Linked DNA regions of Homo sapiens: regions 1 and 2 are each linked to region 3. The links are contacts of gene promoters, found by promoter capture Hi-C in human tissues and cell types (Jung and others, 2019). All regions are on one chromosome and are shown on one strand. Each heading gives the region's core, a stretch centred on a gene start or on the middle of the fragment in contact. The rest is flanking DNA. Distances are from core to core; before and after follow the strand shown.

What was found. The method cuts DNA at HindIII sites, captures the fragments that hold promoters and counts their contacts. A contact is called where the count stands out against the background at its distance.
Region 1: a contact is called between a fragment that was not itself captured here and the fragment with the promoter of CPSF4L in region 3, in 4 of the 25 tissues and cell types used here (hippocampus, mesendoderm cells, spleen and 1 more).
Region 2: a contact is called between a fragment that was not itself captured here and the fragment with the promoter of CPSF4L in region 3, in 1 of the 25 tissues and cell types used here (liver).

Annotation. Positions count from the first base shown.
Region 1 is chr17:73,226,729-73,229,645 of GRCh38, forward strand. VCF1 (VCP nuclear cofactor family member 1) reads right to left here. Exons shown (of 4, transcript NM_001098832.2): 2 at 437-536. Among named protein-coding and RNA genes, the nearest start is that of VCF1, 4.2 kb to the right of the region's middle. RefSeq lists an enhancer at 2,252-2,301. The HindIII fragment of the contact is 4,223 bases long and covers 1-2,917 here.
Region 2 is chr17:73,206,032-73,208,731 of GRCh38, forward strand. It overlaps COG1 (component of oligomeric golgi complex 1), which reads left to right. Exons shown (of 14, transcript NM_018714.3): 11 at 123-231; 12 at 677-786; 13 at 1,150-1,225; 14 at 2,283-2,476. The coding sequence ends at 2,420. It overlaps VCF1 (VCP nuclear cofactor family member 1), which reads right to left. Exons shown (of 4, transcript NM_001098832.2): 4 at 1,334-2,700. Among named protein-coding and RNA genes, the nearest start is that of COG1, 14 kb to the left of the region's middle. The HindIII fragment of the contact is 8,479 bases long and covers 1-2,700 here.
Region 3 is chr17:73,260,478-73,263,228 of GRCh38, forward strand. It overlaps CPSF4L (cleavage and polyadenylation specific factor 4 like), which reads right to left and starts at 1,403. Exons shown (of 6, transcript NM_001129885.1): 1 at 1,239-1,403; 2 at 456-506. The coding sequence starts at 1,341. The HindIII fragment of the contact is 16,084 bases long and covers 1-2,751 here.

The DNA.
Region 1 (2,917 bases), core at 85-2,584, 34 kb before region 3:
GAGAAATGGGATTCTGCATACACATACCTTACATATTTTACATGCTTAAAGTTTCTCTTAAAAGGCATTTGAATTGAAGCAACAAAATATGTTTATCTTAAGGACAATTCATGGTTTATAAACTACCAGAAAAGAAGTTCGCTGCTGAAATACAAAACAGTGAGTTCAAACATAGGCTTTCAAAAAGCCACGAAATTTCTAACAAATACAAATGAGTGTGTACATATATGACTATGTGCACATATGTACTGTTTTGCTGGGGACAGGGTACACAGCTTCCTCAAAGGGACCCTGATTTGGAAACAGAAAGGTTAAACCAGTATAATCAACTAAGGTCATTTTAAATTACTGTTTAAGTAAATTTAATTACACAGCAGATACTAGGTTATTTAACTCAAGCAGTGAAAACAACAGACTATGTGACCACACTTCCTACCTCTGTGTCCCAGGAATCCTGAAAGACAGGGTTTCTGCTACTTCTTTTGGTCTGGGGGGGAAGATGGTTGTCTTCTTCGTTGCCATTCCTTCTCCTTTTCCTGAAATTAAATCACAAGGAGAAAAAAAAAAAAACCCAAACAACCGATGTTTTGGACACTTGAATTGCAAACCATAACAACATATAAATTTGCCCTCTGGCCTGAGAAAACATAATTCAGCATATGATATCCCAATAGGTTATCAGTTGGAAGTACAGCATCACTGGACACTAAGAGCAAAAATACAAGACAGCAGCAGCGAGGTCAAGCTTAAGTTAGTAAAACTCATTTCTAAAAAGAAGCTTAACAATTTTAAATGTCTGTTGGGACTGAAACAAGAACAGGAAGAGGTTAATGACTAAGCTTTCAACCTCTAACCTAATTAAGGTTTTCTTCTTTTTACACTCCCTGAAATTAGGATTCCGAGTTACCTAATTGTACTCCCTTCCATATGACAACATTTGATATAAGAGTGGCTGCCTTTGCCTATTTGCCCTGAAAACCCTTATAAAAGTACCTCTTGGTCACATTCACCTGCTTATTCTGGCAACACTAGCCGGTATTATGATATAACAATTACTTCACTAGATTGTTACTATGAGATGATAGCATAAGCTGCTTAAAATTTCCAGGTTTAAAGAAAAATCACACATCTTTCTTAGGCAAGTGTTCTCGGACATGCAAGAAAGACCAAATTTGCATGTACTCTATTTAAGAATTATGTGCTGTCAAAACGATTTCTGAACCTGTTAGAAAACAGAAATAAATTAAAGGAGGTATAATTTTCAGTCAAATTGCCCGGAACTGTACTGTCCAATACGGTAGCCACTAGCCACATATGGTTATTTACATTTAAATTAACTAAAATTAACCATCCAGTTCCTAGGTCACAGCTGCCCTGTTTCTAGTGCTCAGTGGCCACGTGTAGCTAGTGGCTACTGCACTGACCAGCACAGATAAAGGACATTTCCGTCACTGCAGAACGTTCTCCGGAGCAGCACAGGCTAGAGGTCTGTATGTACATGGCAGCAGCACCTATTACAAAACCCTTGAAGTTTCAGCTTTCTATAGTTAAGAGACAAAAGGCTAGTGTGGACACACAGCTCTTGGAAAGCATGTACATTTGGAGGATATAGTGTCTTCTAAATAATTATACACTTTCTATGAGAGTAGGGTGGCTTACAGTGGCAGGCCTTTAATCCTAAAGGTTTTGAGTTGAGGTTTGAATATTAGAGAAAATAAATGATCACCCTAAGCTCACTTCTCTGTACTCTGCAACATTCTGAATAGGTCTAACTTTAATAATGAGTATGGATCCCAGCTTAAGTTTGGAATAATAAAGAGTGTGTGGTTCTGATAAAGCTTCAACCATCCTGCACTGGGCTATGTAATTTACTTCATTCTAAGACATTTCTGCTCCCCACCTTTCTCTTAGGAGATCAGATCTTAGCTGCACATTACTTTGAAGTAGTTGGAGGTTAAAAAAAAATAGATGAATATCAGGTTTTAATAATCATTAAATGGGTGTGCTTTTATCATAAATTTGAACCAAGAAACTGCTAATTTCATCCTAATATGATCAGGGAATTTGAGTGGGAGTGTTCTGCAGAGGCAAAGCAATGTCTGCTGGGAGGCCAGTCGACACCCAAAGAGAAAGTCATTGAGTAAGTAGCAGCTGCTGGTCCTCACACACCCATTTTATCAGCGTGCCAACAGCTGACTGGGCTTTGGGCTGCTGAGTCACTCTAACCAAACTTAGGAGCCTGATCAAAATTTGCTATCTCCTCATTTATAATGGGGGATAGATCTTTCCAGGGACAAGACTATGAATGTCAAGGAGGTTGCATGGCAGAGGGACTGTAAGAACAAAAAAAGATGAGATGATTTTGTGGATTTCAACTAATCTCTGGGAGAGTCACATGAAATATCCCTGCCTCATAAATTACTTGATCTCTCAAGGCACCAGAATAATCTCTTTGGCCTGTTGGTAGCCTTCTCCTCTGGATGGTACCAGATTAAGAAAGAGTCCTACCTGCTCTTCATTTGCCTTTTTCTAGGCTCTTAGCAGATCTCATCCTTGAAACATTCTTCTTTCAACAATGGTGTTAACAACTGGCAAGATTACAGCTTCATGCTCATCCCTATCAGTTCAATCAATCAGATTACAATTTTTGGCATTAATGCCACAGACCAGGTTATGATTTTAGCAGGCACCCCTATAACTGATTATATTCTTCCCTAACCATCTAGGTGCAGATTACCAGTTAGCATCTGTTACTTCTACAGATGGTTGATTCCATCACGTTGCATTATTTCATTTCTCTCCAACCTTCCTGTCATCTCCTAGAGACTCGGCATAGAAATAATCTTAAGAGTATGGGCTGGGCACGGTGACTCACACCTGTAATCCCAGCACTTTGGGAGGCTGAGGCAGGCAGATC
Region 2 (2,700 bases), core at 201-2,700, 54 kb before region 3:
TACTAAGCCAGCAACTAAGTAGAATAAAACCCAACTCCAAGATTTCTACAGCAGTAGGATATCATAAGATTGTTTTTGATCCTAAAAAATGTGGACAGTAATGATCCTAATCCTTTTCTCAGAATTGAGAAAGTGACTGACCACCTGGAAGCCCTCATTGATCCATTTGACCTGGACGTTTTCACGCCACACCTCAACAGCAACCTTCATCGCCTGGTGCAGCGAACTTCTGTGAGTCAAATCAAAAACATGCTTAGTGCGAACGAAGCGATACAGGCTCAAATAACAAAATTAACCTGCTCAAGCACGTAATACTCCAGGATGCAGCATAGGGAGGGGAATAAGACACAAATAGCCGAGTGTAGTTATAAGGACTGAAAGAGGATTAGATAAAATCTCACACACTGAGGCAACCAAGATTTGGCCCCTTAAGTTGTAAATAAGGATTATTACAGTTTTATCCAGGCCTCAGAAAGAGGAATAAAAACTCCCTGCCTCTCAGATTCTGACCTGTGGGCAGTGATAAAAAGTAATCGTGAAGCATAAATGCACTCAGAACATTCCCCAAAATGACAGTTAGAAATACGGTAGCGATGGGTGACTAACCTTTTTTTTTTTTTTTTTGCCTTTCTTTTACCTGCACAATGAAACCTCTGCTCCACCTCTTGTCTGCCAGGTTCTGTTTGGATTGGTGACTGGTACAGAGAATCAGCTCGCCCCCCGGAGCAGTACGTTCAACTCCCAAGAACCCCATAACATCCTGCCACTGGCATCCAGTCAGATCAGGTAAAGGCTGCCAAGAGGCTTCTGCGGGGCACTTCGGGAGGCCAAGGTGGACGGATCACGTCAGGAGATCGAGACCATCCTGGCTAACATGGTGAAACCCTGTCTCTACTAAAAAAAATACAAAAAATTAGCTGGCCTGGTGGCAGGTGCCTATAGTCCCAGCTATTCAGGAGGCTGAGGCAGGAGAATGGCGTGAACCCAGGAGGCGGAGCTTGCAGTGAGCCGAGATTGCGCCACTGCACTCCAGCCTGGGCGACAGAACGAGACTCTGTCTCAAAAAAAAAAAAAAAAAAAAAATGAGGCTTCTGCTGGGCCCCAGAGCTGCCTGTTTGTGCTACTAAATTCTTTCCTCTTGTTTTGGAGGTTTGGACTTCTCCCACTGAGCATGACAAGCACTCGAAAGGCTAAATCAACCAGAAACATCGAAACAAAAGCTCAGGTTGGTGCCAAGAGCAAGAGGCTCATCCGTGGATGGGTCCCCACCTCCCACCGAGCCACCCATGATCAGCTCCCTTTTAAATAACTGATTAAGAACTGAATGACAAAATGCACTAATGCTGCTTTTAATGGCGGCGCAATAGAGAAGTACAAGGTTTTACTAGCTTGAGCTACTAGAAGGTGTAAAAGATGCCCGCTGACACTACCAAGTAGCCTCTTAATAGAAATGTAGAAAATATACAGGACAGGGTGGAGATGAGCTCTTGAATTTAGTAGGGTGAAAGAGTTAACTGCCAACCCGGCACTATCATTGTACTTGTTTGGAGAAAATCTGTTTTGTTCTGGTGATGATGGTTTTATCTTCCCTTTTAGTTGGGTGGGAAGTAACAGAAAATTTGTTTCCCCAAAAGTTTGACATTTTCTTGTTAATACACGTTTCATTTCAGTACGATGCCAACTGTTAAGCCTGCAGGAATCCTCCTGGGTATTTCTGAATTGTGCTGTGTGCATGTGTGTTTGAAAGCTCAAACAGCTTGTCTTCTTACAGCATCGAGTTGTTTGCTTTATTGTTAGACACAATATTAGCAGTGTATCCTTTCCGTATTCCCTACCATCGAACCCATTAAGATCTAAAATCCTTGTCAAGTATCTGGCTTTAAAAGTTGGGAGATGGTAGTTTAAAAAAAAAAAAAGCTCTTGCAAAAACCATCCAGTCCCTAAGCATGGGCTATGTTGCAGCCTCTTCCAGAACAGTTTCCACTGCAGTGATCTTTCAGTTCTGCCCACATTAGGTTAGCAGGCTGTGGAGAGAAGTGCCTGTGTCTACCCTTTTCCCAAGACAGTCCTCATTTCCAAATTCTAGTTTTGTCACAAAGGCTCATGCTGTTCCGTGTCCTCTTCAAATCTGGACCGACAGCAAAGTCCTCTGACTAGAGCCATCGTGCTTCTCAGCTCCGCTTGTGTGTGCCGTGTGGACTCCGAGTGGCGTCGCGCGGAGGGCGAGTGGGCAGGAGGGCTCAGGCCAACTCTAAGGCACTTTTCTCTACATCCAATGGCAGGTTGTCCCCCCGGCACGCTCCACAGCTGGTGACCCGACAGTTCCTGGCTCCTTGTTCAGACAGCTTGTCAGTGAAGAAGACAACACGTCTGCACCTTCATTATTCAAACTTGGCTGGCTCTCTAGTATGACTAAGTAACATGGCAACACATCTGTCTCTCCCTAAATAAATACTACCACATTATTTCTTCTAAAGGTGCCTCTGCTCATCTGATTCTCAGCCACACCAATCTTTCCAGTTTCACTGATGGAATGTGGCCCCCTAGTTACTGTTGGGGGTTACTTTAAGCATCAAGTTAATCCTTGTCCCAAAATTTCACAATACTTGTTGCTTTAGACATCAGTTCAGGTAGCTTACATTTTATCAGCGTTCAACAACACCTTAATTGTTGACACTACAAGGTGGAATTGTCAATGAG
Region 3 (2,751 bases), core at 153-2,652:
GCTCCATGGCCGGGCATGGTGGCTCACGCCTGTAATCCCAGCACTTTGGGAGGCCCAGGCAGGTGGATCACCTGAGGTGAGGAGTTTGAGACCCGCCTGGCCAACATGACAAAACTCCATCTCTACTAAAAATGCAAAAATTAGCCGGGCTTGGTGGCATGCACCTGTAGTTCCAGTTACTCGGGAGGCTGAGGAAGGAGAATCGCTTGAACCCAGGAGGCAGAGGTTGCAGTGAGTTGAGATCACGCCAGATCACTCTAGCCTGGGCAACAGAGCGAGATTCCATCTAAAAATAAATAAATAAAATAAAAATAAAATTCCGTTCCATCCCAATTTTCCCTCCCCAGGTGCAAATTCGACACCCTATCCCAGGCCAGGCAGAGCCCCTGCTGGGTGTAGCTCAGACAGACCCTACACTCACCCAGCTTGGGGCCCAGGCCTGTCTGCTAACTCACCTTTCTCACAGAGCCCTTTAGTGAAGAAGTTGCACACAGCTGAGGCCGACTCTGGAAGGAGAAGAGGGAACGGAGAAGGTAGCTTCCCCAGAGGCTGCAGCTGTTCCGGAAGCCTCCACCTCCATCGGCATGTCCCACCTAGACCTCCCCCAGGCTCTGGCCTATGGGATCCCAAATCTGGGCCCTGTAGAGGTTAACCTGCAGAGCCAGCCAGCAGACCTCAACCCTTAACCCCCCAACTCTGAAACAGAGGAGCTCGAGGGGCTCAAGCCTGGCCCAGGAGCTCGGGAGGCCAGTGTGGCTTCTCTCAATTCACCGTCTCTCTGTGCCTCTCTTTCTCAGTCTGGAAAATGGGTTGCCCCGAAGCCACAGAAGAGAGAGACAGAGAAGGGGCGGTCGCATCAGGGAGTTGAGCAGAGAGGCCTGTAGAGAAGGAAGGGGGAGGGAGGCTGGGCGTGGTGGCTCATGCCTGTAATCCCAGCACTTTGGGAGGCCAAGGCGGGCGGATCACGAGGTCAGGAGATTGAGACCATCCTGGCTAACATGGTGAAACCCGGTCTCTACTAAAAATACAAAAAATCAGCTGGGCGTGGTGGCGGGCGCCTGTAGTCCCAGCTCCTCGGGAGGCTGAGGCAGGAGAATGGCGTGAACCCAGGAGGCAGAGCTTGCAATGAGCCGAGATTGTGCCACTACACTCCAGCCTGGGCTACAGAGCGAGACTCCGTCTCAAAGAAAAAAAAACAGAGAAGGTAGGGGAGGGAAAGTGGCCCCACCCTCACTCACTGTCCATGCCCTGGAAAGGCAGGAGCCCAGTGCCCTTCTGCATCTCGACATCCTTCTCGAAGGCAAAGGTGAACCGCTCTAGCCCCGCAATGACCTCTTGCATCTTCCGTCTCCTGCTGGGGCTGCGGAAGCTGCTGGAACCCAGGCAGGTGGGCCCAATATAGCTCATCAGAGGCCCTTAAGGGGCCAGCGCCCAATGCCTCCCCCTTCACCCCAGGGTGCCAGTGGCCAGGTGACTGCAGGGGACGCTCCAGCCTGGGCTGTACAGGAGCAGGGCCCAGCTGCCTCACCCGGCCCACCCAGTGCAGGGGCAGACACCCCAGGGCCCCTCACCCCCACACTGTGTACACAAGGCTCACTCGGATAGGGAGGGATTCGCAGAGCCCCACAAACTGCTTATCTTTGCATGTTACCGAACACAAACGTGGCGTGCACACAGACATTACCAAACCTGGGCTCATACTTTGTCCATGAAGACACAGCCACAGGTTAGCAAAGAGTTGCACAAACCAACCGCAGCAAGGCTGTTATTCTGCCAGAGCTGGGGGTGGTGGGGGTTTGCAGAGGGAGGGAGCCGTCCCACCTCCCCGCTTCTTCCCATGAGGGAAGGGGTCTCCCTCTGGGGCCCCTGACACCCCTTTTCTGGCCTGAGTGACAAGCCCCGAGTGAGCTCTTCGTGGGAGACAGGGAAAAAGGAATGAAGAGGAGAGGAACTGAAACAGTTGGATGAATGGCGCTTTGTTTACCTCGCACACAATCGCCAGCTTGGCGGGAGGGCGGAACCGACCAAGGCCAGGGCGGCCTCCCAGCCAGGATTCCACAGGGCCACCCAGTGCCACCCCACCCCTGAGAAAGTGCTTTATAAATGAAATCTCTATGCAAATGTTGTTTTATTATTATTACACCACCCCTGCCTGCAGGGCTGGGGACATCTGACAATGCTTTCAAAGGAGCATGTTAGGGCTCTAATTAGACCAGGTTCCCCCTCCCCCTGCTCTGGCCCCAAACTGGCCTTGCCTCTAACTAGAGCTGCTGTTCTCAGTCACATTGGCTTTTAATGCCCATAGAACCAGAACCCATACGCCCTCCTTTCTGGGTGCCCAAACCCAGCAGGGAGAGGTGGGCAGCCCCGCAGGCTCTCAGCTGGGCCAACATGAACTAGCCTGCTGGCTGTTGTTCCCCGTGGCTGTTGCTCCTAGATCTGTTCTTTTGAACTCCAGATCAGAAAAGAAAATAGCTGGAGAGATAGACACCTGGAGCCGAGGTGGGACTGGGAGGAGCAGGGACGAGATCCAAGAGTTTCCAGAAGCTCAGGCCTCTGACTGCATCCTGGGAGAGGCAGAGGGACCCAGCTCCAGGGCTAGAGGGTGGGGCCAAGGGGGTCCCTGGGGTAGAAACCCTGGCTTCTCTTGGCCTTAGTTGTATGCGTTGATTAGTAGTCCCAAGAATGCATTCATCTGTCAACACAGGCTCATTAAAGGCTCACAGAAGCCTGGCAGCGCAGGCAGGACTG